Regions from separate parts of the Homo sapiens genome. Here all the other regions are linked to region 1. The links are contacts of gene promoters, found by promoter capture Hi-C in blood cells and fetal thymus (Javierre and others, 2016). All regions are on one chromosome and are shown on one strand. The core of a region is centred on a gene start or on the middle of the fragment in contact, and the rest is flanking DNA. Distances in the headings are between cores, read along the strand shown.

The links. Contacts are between HindIII fragments. The CHiCAGO score rates a contact against its expected background, and 5 or more counts as called.
Region 2: a contact is called between a fragment that was not itself captured here and the fragment with the promoter of TSPEAR-AS1 in region 1, in 1 of 17 cell types (naive CD4 T cells). The highest score is 5.4, in naive CD4 T cells.
Region 3: a fragment that was not itself captured here is called in contact with the fragment with the promoter of TSPEAR-AS1 in region 1 in 5 of 17 cell types (total CD8 T cells, naive CD8 T cells, naive CD4 T cells and 2 more); the score reaches 11.2 in total CD8 T cells.

What each region holds. Positions count from the first base shown.
Region 1 is chr21:44,503,739-44,507,675 of GRCh38, reverse strand. It overlaps TSPEAR-AS1 (TSPEAR antisense RNA 1), which reads right to left and starts at 1,632. Exons shown (of 7, transcript NR_103707.1): 1 at 1,348-1,632; 2 at 577-1,029. TSPEAR (thrombospondin type laminin G domain and EAR repeats) reads left to right here. Exons shown (of 12, transcript NM_144991.3): 11 at 2,795-2,896. The HindIII fragment of the contact is 6,455 bases long and covers 1-3,937 here.
Region 2 is chr21:44,875,267-44,879,203 of GRCh38, reverse strand. No RefSeq gene overlaps it. Among named protein-coding and RNA genes, the nearest start is that of PTTG1IP, 3.5 kb to the right of the region's middle. The HindIII fragment of the contact is 1,020 bases long and covers 1,709-2,728 here.
Region 3 is chr21:44,775,074-44,779,010 of GRCh38, reverse strand. UBE2G2 (ubiquitin conjugating enzyme E2 G2) reads left to right here. Exons shown (of 6, transcript NM_003343.6): 4 at 1,594-1,712. Among named protein-coding and RNA genes, the nearest start is that of UBE2G2, 25 kb to the left of the region's middle. The HindIII fragment of the contact is 8,154 bases long and covers 1-3,937 here.

The DNA.
Region 1 (3,937 bases), core at 383-2,882:
AAACAGATGAGGCAGACGCCTCGGGATTTGAAAGCTGCGGGAACTGACAGAACACAGCTACACACTCGCGACTTATGGCCCTGTCACCACTGGACAGTGGTATGGACAGTTTATGAACTAAATTATGAAACACAGAAAGTACTTACCAATTAATTAAGGTAATGTTTAATAATTACCATCAAAACAGCACACACAAGTCAAACTCCTAGCCCTTCTACCCAGCATGGGGAATTCCCTACACTTCCCGGAGACGTGATGTGGCCTCACCAAGTCCAAAACCCTATTCAAGGGCGCTGAGGGGTTTTGTGGCTTCTGTGTGTAACCTTGGCTCTGACTGCCTTCAAATGGTCGCTTGTGTTTGCTTTTTAGATTCAGTAGTTCTATTAAATCCACAGATATGTGCAGCCATGGCTGCAGACAACTCTGGAACATTCTCATCCCCTCACAAGGAGCCCCCCACACCCTTTTCCAGCCCCTCCCTCCCAACTGGGCACCCCCGGGCCCACTTCCTGTCTCTGTGATTTCCCGTTCTGGACACTGCACAGAAATGGACTCGTAGAGCCGTGGCCTCTGTACCTGGCTTTTTCTCGCAGCACCGTGTCCTCCGGGTTGGTGGTGTGGCCGCGCGGCTCAGAGCATCCCCCTTCTCATGGCTGAGTCACACTTCATCCGTCCATTTGTCCGATGATGGGCATTTGCCAGAGGGCGTGATTCTGAAGAATAACATCTGTCCTACAGCGAGTGTGACCCAGGGCTGCTTTGGAGGCAGAATCGGGCACTAGATGCCTTATTTTGTGGTGAAACCGAAGCCGGCTTCTGATGTGAGCCTCGGTGCAGCCGGACAGGATCTTCCACCACTGGTACATCCGACGTGGCCGCTTGTCTTCCTCGGGTCTGGGTTTCAGAGCTCAGATCCGACTGAGGAGTAACCCCGCGGATTCACACTGACCCGGGGCCCGCGGCCGTGCCTCCAGACCAGAGCATGTGATCACAGGCGTCCTCGTCCTCCTCCCAGCGAGCTGGCACGGGCTGCATGGGAACCAAATCATAACCCACCATTAATGGAGGTGGCTCCAGATGTCACCCTGACTGACCGAAGGAGTGAGGAGCCCAAGGCCCCATGGGCTCTGCCCGCCCTGCCTGTCACTGGACACCTCTGTGATCCCTCCCTCTCCCAAGGCCCTGTCTGAGCCCCTGCTGCAGGCCGGCCCCACAACTGCCTGCAGGGAAGCACCGGGATGAGGCCCCTCTGCTGCCTGAACTGGCCACAGCCCTGAGGCTGCTGAATACAGAGGCACCCGCCTGGCCTGCATGTCAGCAGGACGCCTGCGTGTGCATGGCTTCGACCTCCATTTCCTCATCTTGAGATGTGGGGCTGACGCTGACAGCTCGGCAGGTGGGCTCCTGGGGAGGAAAGGATCCAGGGGAGCCGCTCCTCAGACCCCTCAAACCGAGCCATCCCCAAGCACAGATGCATCCTTGGTAAATTCAGGTGAGACTCCTAAGACAGGACACAGCAAATTTGTTTGCAACAAGAAACAGCTTCTGCTTCTAGGAGAACATCTGTGAACGAGCAGGTCCTGCAGGTCCTGTAGGCACCTCCTGGAGTGACCTCACGGCCGCTGACCTCACAGCTGAAGACACAATGCTGAGAGAAGAAACCAGGCACAGAGGCCACAGCACTGTGACGCCATTTCTGCACAGTGTCCAGAGCGGGAAACCAAGCTCCTGCCTCCAGCAGGCACCAGCAGCCTGAGACTTTTTCTCTGATTGTTTCAACCTCTTAAAAGTGGACTTTTGTACCCCGGTGTTCATAGCAGCAGCATTCACAGTAGCCACATGGAGGAAATTCCCCAAGTGTCTGTCAGCGGATGGACAAACACAACGTGTCCATTCACACAGCGGAGCGTTACTCGGCCTTAGAAAGGAAGGCGATTCTGACACACAGTGCGACACGGATGAACCTTGAGTCACTGGAGTCTCAGCTAAGGCAGACACAAAGGACAAATACCGTGCGATTCCATTCATATGAGGTCCCTAGAGTGGTCAAATTCATAGAGACAGAAAGTGGCGTGGTGGGTGCCGGGGCTGGGGGGGGGGGGGGGGGGAGGGGGGAGGGGGTGATGTTTACTGGGTGCAGAGCTTCGGTTTTGCAGGATGAAGGCGTTCTGGAGGTGGATGGTGGGGGCGGCCACACAGCAGTATGAATGTGCTTAATGCCCCTGATCTGTGCACCTAAAGATGGTTGAGGTGGGAAATGTTATGTTATATGTATTTTACCATAATTTAAAATTTGAGGCCAGGCATGGTGGCTCATGCCTGTAATCCCAGCACTTTGGGAGGCTGAGGTGGGCAGATCACTTGAGGTCAGGAGTTCAAGACCAGCCTGGACAACATGGTGAAACCCTGTCTGTACTACAAATACAAAAATTAGCCGGGCGTGGTGCCGCACACTTGTAATCCCAGCTACTCGGGAGGCTGAGGCAGGAGAATCGCTTGAATCCGAGAGGCAGAGGTTGCCGTGAGCCGAGATCTCGCCACTGCACTCCAGCCTGGGTGACAGAATGAGACTCCATCTCAAAAATAAAATAAAATAAAATTTGAAATTTTTTTTAAGCAAACAACTAATTTACATTTTCCTGGAATAGACCAACACATATGTGACTGTGAGAAAATCACTCCCCACTTTGGCCCCGGCTCCTCCTCTATAAATTTTGGAGGTAGCTTCTGGCCAATCCCCCAGTTCCCTGGCGATGTCTGTTGTGTCCTAATATCCACCCACTTGTTCCTGCAGTGCTCTGGACTGGGAGTTTTTCTCGGTGGGAGAAGATTATTTCCTGGTGGTGGCCAACTCCTTCGATGGGCGTACCTTCTCGGTGAACAGTATTATTTACAGGTAATGAGCTGCCGAGGCCGGCCTCCTCCCAGAGCCTTGCTTCCCCACTGTGGGCTCACCGAGGCCGGCCTCCTCCAAGAGACTTGCTTCCCCACTGTGGGCTCACCGAGGCCGGCCTCCTCCAAGAGACTTGCTTCCCCACTGTGGGCTCACCGAGGCCGGCCTCCTCCAAGAGACTTGCTTCCCCACTGTGGGCTCACCGAGGCCGGCCTCCTCCAAGAGACTTGCTTCCCCACTGTGGGCTCACCGAGGCCGGCCTCCTCCCAGAGCCTTGCTTCCCCACTGTGGGCTCACCGAGGCCGGCCTCCTCCAAGAGCCTTGCTTCCCCACTGTGGGCTCACTGAGGCCAGCTTCCTCCCAGAGCCTTGCTTCCCCCGAGGGCTCACCGAGGCCAGCTTCCTCCAAGAGACTTGCTTCCCCCGAGGGCTCACCGAGGCCAGCTTCCTCCCAGTGCCTTGCTTCCCCCTAAGGGCTCACCGAGGCCGGCTTCCTCCCAGAGCCCTGCTTCCCCCTGAGGGCTCACCGAGGCCAGCTACCCCCCGAGGGCTCACCGAGGCCGGCTTCCTCCCAGAGTCTTGCTTCCCCACTGTGGGCTCACCAAGGCCGGCCTCCTCCAAGAGACTTGCTTCCCCACTGTGGGCTCACTGAGGCCGGCTTCCTCCCAGAGCCTTGCTTCCCCACTGTGGGCTCACCAAGGCCAGCTTCCCCCCAAGGGCTCACCGAGGCCAACTTCCTCCCAGAGCCTTGCTTCCTGCTGAGGGCTCACCGAGGCCGGCTTCCTCCCAGAGCCTTGCTTCCCCGCCGAGGGCTCACCAACTCCGGCCTCCTCCCAGAGCCTTGCTTCCCGCCGAGGGCTCACCGAGGCCAGCTTCCTCCCAGCACATTGCTTCCCCCCTGTGGGCTCACCAAGGCCGGCTTCCCCCCAAGGGCTCACCAAGGCCGGCCTCCTCCCAGCGCCTTGCTTCCCCCCGAGGGCTCACCGAGGCCAGCTTCCTCCCAGAGCCTTGCTTCCCCCCGAGGGCTCACCAACTCCGGCCTCCT
Region 2 (3,937 bases), core at 969-3,468, 370 kb before region 1:
GCCAATTATAATTTTTCATTAATGTTTTGCAAGGGCACTGCAATAGCTGAATATGTCTCCCTTTAATATCATAGACGTACAGTTTCTTGGAGATAATTTCATGGGTCTGCCTAATTTTTAGCAGAGATAACTGGTGTTTACCTAAAGGGGTCGACCTCTGATTAAGCAGAACCAGTAGAAGAACTTCTGACCAAGGAATTTGAAAAGCCTTGGTTAATTTTGCCAACTGAGTTTTGATTATTCCATTGGTGCATTTCACTAACCCAGATGACTGGGTGTGGTAAGCGCAATGGAAATGCTGGAGGATGGGCCAAAGTTTACATACTGATTGAATCATCCGTCCAGCGAAGTGAGTTCCTCTATTGCTACAAGTTCCAGAGGAACTCCCCAGGTTGCAATACCTTTTTCTACAGCAATTTTACTCACTGCTAAGGCAGTGCTCTTCTGCATGGAAATGCCTCTGCCCAGTGAGAAAACAAGTAAATTGTTATCAGAACATGTTTGTATGTTTCTGAGGGTGGCAACAGCATGGCATCTAATGGTCATAACTCACAAGGGCCTCGGGTAAAGGGAAATGTCCTTATAATGGTTTTCCTGGATTATATTTTAGGGAACTGTGGCAATGATTGTCTGTTTCGATCTTTGTGTTTGTAGAAAGCAAAAAGTTCCTCTTCAAAGTTTCCCTTCTTGTTAAAGAGTAAATCATAAGTGTTAAAAATAATAGTTTCTTTTAAAAACTAACTTCCTTCAAGCCTCCTGGCTTCGTGCTAATAACTGCTCGTTAAGCTCTAGCCTGTGTAGCTGTTACACTTGCTCACGGGCACGTAGTACATTCTATGTCCTTGAACCTTAACCAGGATATTTGTGCTGGACCTGCCCACAGGCACATTCCAGCTCGCAGCCTATGCCCCTTCCCTATTTGGTATTAAGCAACTTCCTCTTTTCCTTTGTCTTTCCATTACTTTTACCTATTTAGAAAAGTTTTAAACTGTTAGCCAATCGGGTTTTAGTTTAGATTGTGAGGTCTGGCTCCAGCCAATGGAGACAGGACACAGTAGCAGGGCCAAACAGCGGCAGGGATGAAAATGGCTTCCCTCCTTTGTTCAGGTGTGCTCTCGCCATTGTTCCATCTGTGATGAGCACCCCTTCTGCAGAAAGTAAAAATGGCCTTGCTGAGAGAATTAAATTTATGTTCGAGTGCTGTGTCTTTGCAGCACTTGGGAACAAGCATTCTGTTTCTAAATAACAATTTTTACATATAACAGTGTTTTAGGAACCCCTAAAGCATCTCCACCACTTTCATGTATTATACAAATAATAGAATGGAAGGTTATAATTTGTATGCCCCAAAGGCGGAGCATTAGCAAGGTCACGTTTGATCATTTCAAATGTTGGTGTATTTTCTTCTGACCACTCTAAAGTCCTGGCATGTCCTGTTTTTAGAGAGCGTATAAGGACTGAGCTTTAAAGAAAAGTTTGGGATCCAATTTCTATAATATCCTGCCAGTCCTCCACATCCTTTTGTTTCTTGGTTGTTGGTGGTGGAAAGCTAAAATTCCTTTCAGTCTATCTAGATTAGTAGAAAGTCTTTCTTTAGATATTAAGTGGCCCAAGTACTTTGTTTTTTATAAAATTGAGGTTTTTCTTTAGGAATTTTATGTCCCTTTAGGGCTGTTGTAATGAATGTATCCCATCTTCTATAAAAGCTTTGCTTATCTTCTGAGCAAAGGAGTAAACTGCCCATGTATTGTAATAAAAAATTTTTTTTAAGAACAAGTCAAAAGACTGGGCCCAGTGCCTCGCGCCTGTAATTCCAACACTCTGGGAGGTTGCAGTGGGCGGATCACCTGGGGTTCAGAGTTTGAGACCAGCCTGACCAACATGGAGAAACTCCATCTCTACTAAAAATACGAAATTAGCCAGGCATGGTGGCGCATGCCTGTAATCTCAGCTACTCGGGAGACTGAGGTGGGAGAATTGCTTGAACCCGGGAGGCAGAGGTTGCAGTGAGCCGAGGTAGCGCCATTGCACTCCAGCCTGGACAACAAGAGCGAAACTCCGTCAAAAAAAAAAAAAAAAGAACAAGTCAGTATGTAAGACAACTGTCTTTGCATCAGTTGGACTCTCAGTGTAGCCCTGAGCATGGCTGTCTGTGTGTATTGTCTGCCTTCCCAAGTAAAGGTAAAGAGAAATCAACACTTTCACACACAGAACTACTGAAGGATGTGCTAATAAGTCCACTACACTAAAGGACTTTGATCGGGGTAGCCAAGAGGATTCTTCCAGTATCAGTGGAAGACTCTGACCATATTTGATCAAGTACTGCCTTTAGTAGGTTTTGTAATTCTTCATTATTCAATAATTCAGTGTCTTCTAGGGCAATTAGGGATCGCAATTGGGTTAGATTTTGAAACTTTTTTTATGTCTAGTAACTCAGCTTTCTCATCTAATTCTAAATACGTCTTCCCCCTTTGGGAGAAAGAAACGTGGATATTGTAATTCTAAGAAGTCTCCTTTTATAAGATGGCTGGCAGCTGATAGAACCAGAAGGAAAATGTGAGTCCCTTGTAAAGGACCTAGTTGAAAAGCTATAGGCTGAGATTTACGTGCCGTTACAGGCGTATTAGTGACACCTACCCTTTGAACTTTTTTTTGACTCCAAGGAATGGAACCTTGTAACAAGATGGGATTTATTACAGAAAACACGGCTGCTCTATCAGCAAAAGCTTATGTCAGCAATGGGAACTCGTGTTAACTATTTTAAATAATTTTTATGGCCAGGCGTGGTGGCTCACGCCTGTAATCCCAGCACTTTGGGAGGCTGAGGCAGGTGGATCACAAGGTCAGGAGTTCAAGACCAACCTGGCCAATATGGTGAAACCCCATTTCTACTAAAAATACAAAAATTAGCCGGGCGTGGTGGTGCGTGCCTGTGGTCTCAGCTGCTCGGGAGGCTGAGGCAGAGGAGTCGCTTGAACCTGGGAGGCGGAGGTTGCAGTGAGCCAAGATTGAGCCATTGCACTCCAGCCTGCGCAACAGAGCGAGACTCCGTCTCAAAAAAAAAAAAATTATTTTTCCCAAAGTAGAGGCAGGGTCACACACTCGGGTATTTAAATTCTCTGGGAAAACCAGTGGGGTCCTGGTGAGCATCAGGAAATTCCTTGATTATACTTTTAAGTTCTACCTTTGACCATAACTCATGAACTAGGGCACATAGTTGTCCCCTATGAGAGACACTGGCTGTTTGAGCAATGGCCCCAAAACAGGAGGAGGAGGAGGAAGAAAGGTGGGTCTGGGCGAGGTAATTCAGACAACAAAGGATAAAGAGAAGGAGCTGAGGGAGGAGGGGGAGAAATTTCAGTAGTCTTTTTTAAATTCAGAAATTATTTTAGATAATTTTTGTTTTTCTCTCATAAATACCTTTATTAGAACTTCTTTTGGATGCTTCCAACTACCATAAAAAATAACTCTCCCAAAGATTCCGTTTTATCCTAGAGCCAGCGTTTTCCAATTGAGCAAACAAGTAAATTACCTTGGTGTTCCAATGGTACCCGGCTTTGGTCACTGAAATGTTTTTTCTCAAGTTACGTGAGACCATTTTTCTAAATATAACGAGAGGTGGCACCATAAGCACTGCACAGGAAACCAGCTGGAGTTTCCAAAGATGGGTCCTCCCTGAAGGAGAAAGACTTGTTTTGGATGGACGATTGCCTATGAGTTCTCTTAAGTGACAAAAGACTGTAAGGGAAAATCTGGTTACTCAAGAAGAAAGTTTAGACATGTCAAATTGAACTCAGCTCCAGAGCCTGGCCAGTTTTAAGGATTACAAATTTTGCTTAAGCCACGATTCGCTGCTTCTTTTCAAAGAGAAACTGCTTTCCCCTTCTCCAAATCTGAAGGACAAAAAAGGTTGCAAACTTTAGCAAGACGAACAAAA
Region 3 (3,937 bases), core at 447-2,946, 270 kb before region 1:
TTTTTACTTTTAAGAAATCTATTTTTTAACTGAAGATTTAAAACGTATATTTTTTTAAATTATTTTTTTCCTGTGCCATATCCTGGATTCTTTCTGAAGGCAGTAGGTCTGGTGTGGACTGTCCTCTGCTCATCCAGGCCTCGGCCCCTGCACGACTGTTCTTTCTGCCTTAGCCTTTGTTGTTAGAGGAGCAGAGCTGTTTAGGAAGGGACTTGTTCTTTCAGTTCGTAGACGGAGAACGGGTTTACTGACCTATTTATTGATCTGATGAGTCACACCCAGTGCAACTTCCACTGTTTCGTTGTCTGCCGCTGTCATTCAGCAGTCCTGCTTCCTTATCAAAGAAAGATGGTGCAAGATCTTTTAGAACTCCTCCAATGTGTGTTTTATTAATGTGATTTGTAGGAGAAGAGGAGTTCGTCCCTGGTGTGAAGGTACAGGCATAGTGGCTGACACTCTTCCTCTCCTGTGGCCATCATGCCTTGAACTGTTGGTCAAGATAGTGTTAATTTATACTTGTTGGGTTTTAAACCTTAAGCAGGATTTCTGAAATGGTTTCATCTATTTCTTCCATTTACACGTGAGGAAAGTATAGGTCCAGGGAGACTCAGTGCCTGTGTCTGTGCCCATGACGGGGAGTTGCTCCAATGTTGCATCAGTGGGATGAGGCACAGCACATGGGCCTGCAGGTGCAGCCTGGAGTGGTGGTGCCTGTGTGCCTAGCCTTTCACCGAGCATGCAGCAGTGATCACATGTGCTCTTCATCTGCTTCTTGAAGGTTGCAAAGATGCCTTCTTGGGCACGTTTAAAAATTAAAAATCACCTTTGAAATACAACTCTTAGCCCCACATCTGTTGAAATACAATGTAATCTTGCTATACCCTGTGCCGTAATTCATACCCTTATCCTAAAATGTGATTGTACCACATCTGCAGAAAAAACTCCCAGATCTTAGAGCATTGACATTAGTTCTTTTCTCTGATCTCCTTCTTATCAAGAGGTTCTGCTGCTTGACTCTTAACCTTCATAAATGTGAAAACTGCCTGGAATTCAGTCTTTGTACTTGTACCTAAGATTTAGACCAGATTGAAACTGGAGAATGGGACATTGCTTTCCACTGAAAAGAAAGTACCAATTCATTGTTACTTAGATAATCTTTTTGTGTGCATTTTTATTATTTATTTTTATTTTTGTTTATTTTTTGAGACGGAGTCACGCTCTGTCGCCCAGGCTTGAGTGCGGTGGCGAGATCTTGGCTCACTGCAACCTCCACCTCCCAGGCTCAGACGATTCTCCTGCCTCAGCCTCCCAAGTAGCTGGGATTACAGTCATGCGCCACCACACCCAGCCAATTTTTGTATTTTTAGTAGAGACAGGGTTTCACCATGTTGCCCAGGCTGGTCTTGAACTCCTGACCTCAGATGATCTGCCTGTCTCGGCCTTCCAAAGTGCTGGGATTACAGGCGTGAGCCACCGCACCCGGCCTCACGTGCATTTTTAAAGTGGTAAAAATGTTCTTAACCCATTTGTCAATTGTGGTCGACGTTGAAAAATGTACTTTGAAGTTCAGTCTACGTATTTTATATCTTCTAGGGGCCCAGAAGACACCTGCTTTGAGTTTGGTGTTTTTCCTGCCATCCTGAGTTTCCCACTTGATTACCCGTTAAGTCCCCCAAAGATGAGATTTACCTGTGAGATGTTTCATCCCAACAGTAAGTGCTTTTGGAAGTAGTTTTTGTGGTACCAGGATAGGTACGGAGATAATATTATCAGCCACCTGAAATGTGGTATATTCTATATGTCTATGATGTAGATCTTTAGAAAACACTTCTTATGTTTTGAAATTCAGCCAAGTAAGCATGGTGGTATTAAGCACATGATTTCAATTTTGAAGGTCAGTTTAATATAGATAAAAGACAACAGGCACCTAAAACCGGATGCCATTTGACCCAGCCACCCTACTTCACTGGGGAGGAAGTTTTACACATGGGTGTGTGCTCAGAAGGGGTTATGCTAATCTTTGTCATAGTGTTATTTGTAATGGTGAAAATTTTGACTTAACCTGGGTTTTTAACACAAGAATAAATTAAGTTATATATTGTATTAGTCTGTTGTCACGCTGCTAATAAAGACATATTCAAGTCTGGGTAATTTATAAAGGAAAGAGATTTAATGGACTCACAGTTCCACATGGCTGGGGAGACCTCACAATCATGGCAGAAGGCAAAGGAGAAGCAAAGGCACATCTTAGTGGCGGCAGGCAAGAGAGTGTGTGCAGGGGAACTGCCCTTTACGGAACCATCAGATCTCGTGAGACTTGTACACTATCACGAGAACAGCACGGGAAAGATGTGCCTCCATGATTCAGTACTTCCCACTGGGTCCCTCCCATGACATGTGGGAATTATGGGAGCTACAATTCAAGATGAGATTTGGGTGGGGACACACCCAAACTATATCATATATGTTAGAATGTGATGTAGATTTTTTAAATGATCTAAAAGAAGAATCAATGATACAAAGTAGTATTTGTGTTATATTGACTGGGAAAAGCAGTAGCACTGTTATAATTTCCTCTTGAAAAAGAAATTCACATGTAAATGTATATATAACTGGAAAAGTAAGCACAAAAATGTTAAAAGTGATTCTTTTTTCAGATTGAAATTTTTTTTCCTTTTTGTAAATCTTTTTTTGCCCTAAAATTAATATATATTAATTTTAAAAGGAGGAAAAAAATAAGGTCATTTAAGTGAATTGTACTGTAGCTTATTTGAAAATGTGTCCAGTAGTAGGAATTGGAATTTCTGAACAGCTGTAGTTTTTATTTTTTCCTTTTACATTCTTCCTTTTACATCTTTGCCATAGGGGTTTTCAGGACTACCCCCCCACCCCCGGCCACTTCACTGGTGGAAATGCCGTCTGCCAATAGACTTGCTGTCCTAACCCTCGTTTAGGACTTCTCATTTACTGCAGATATTGGTACACATAGGTAGTGGGCGGCTGCCTGAGAGAGACCATTTGGTACTTCTTTTCTTATCTCAAAGCTGCTTCAGTCTTGTGTGCACAGGGGATGCTCAGAAGCGTGCCTTCTTTCAGGGAGACTGGCCATGCGCCTGAGTTAGATGATAACATGGAGGTTCATCACACGCTGTCTACTTGAGTGTGTTTTTGGAATTCTCCATAATAAAAAGTTAAAAAATACAATTGATAGGTAAGAGTAATTGAAGTAGTTTCAAATTGGTTAGCTATAAAATGCAACTATGAAGAGGATTGTAGGTAATTAAAATACTAAGATTGTATTGAGGAGAAATATATTATTCAGAACAATACCTGTGACATGGCATTAGTGACAAATATGACCAATAAACTGATTACCTTATGTGACTATGTACTACAGGTGGTCTGATTATTATTTTTAATGTTCTGGTAATTATTTTTAATGCTCAGATAATATAAATTTTTGCCTTACTGTAATTGGATTATTTTGATTTTTTAAAAATTATCTTTGAGAACTATAGGTCTACCAATATCATAAAAACTAGTCAATAAATACTTTAAAAACAATTCAACACACGTACTGAAAGTTGCTGGTATACAGTGGTGAGCAAATAATAGCAGACCTTCAGGAGCTTATATTCCAAGGACAGGGATGGACATTGATAGGAGAATCACACAAACAAAATGCAAAGTCACATCAGGAAGTTCTGGGCAGCACCTTGCAGAGGTGGTGGTTGGATGGACCATCTGTAGGGAGTGAAGCAGGAGTTACCTGAGTGATTCGGGGAGGAGGGGCCCTTCACATGTGCAAAGGCCCAGCGCAGGAAGTGACGGGAGAGGAAGGCCGGGGCCAAACTACCTCAGGCCTTTTGGTCAATACTGAAGGTTTTGATGTTTTCTCCTGGGAGTGGCGGAACTCCATTGAAAGACTCCAAGGGAG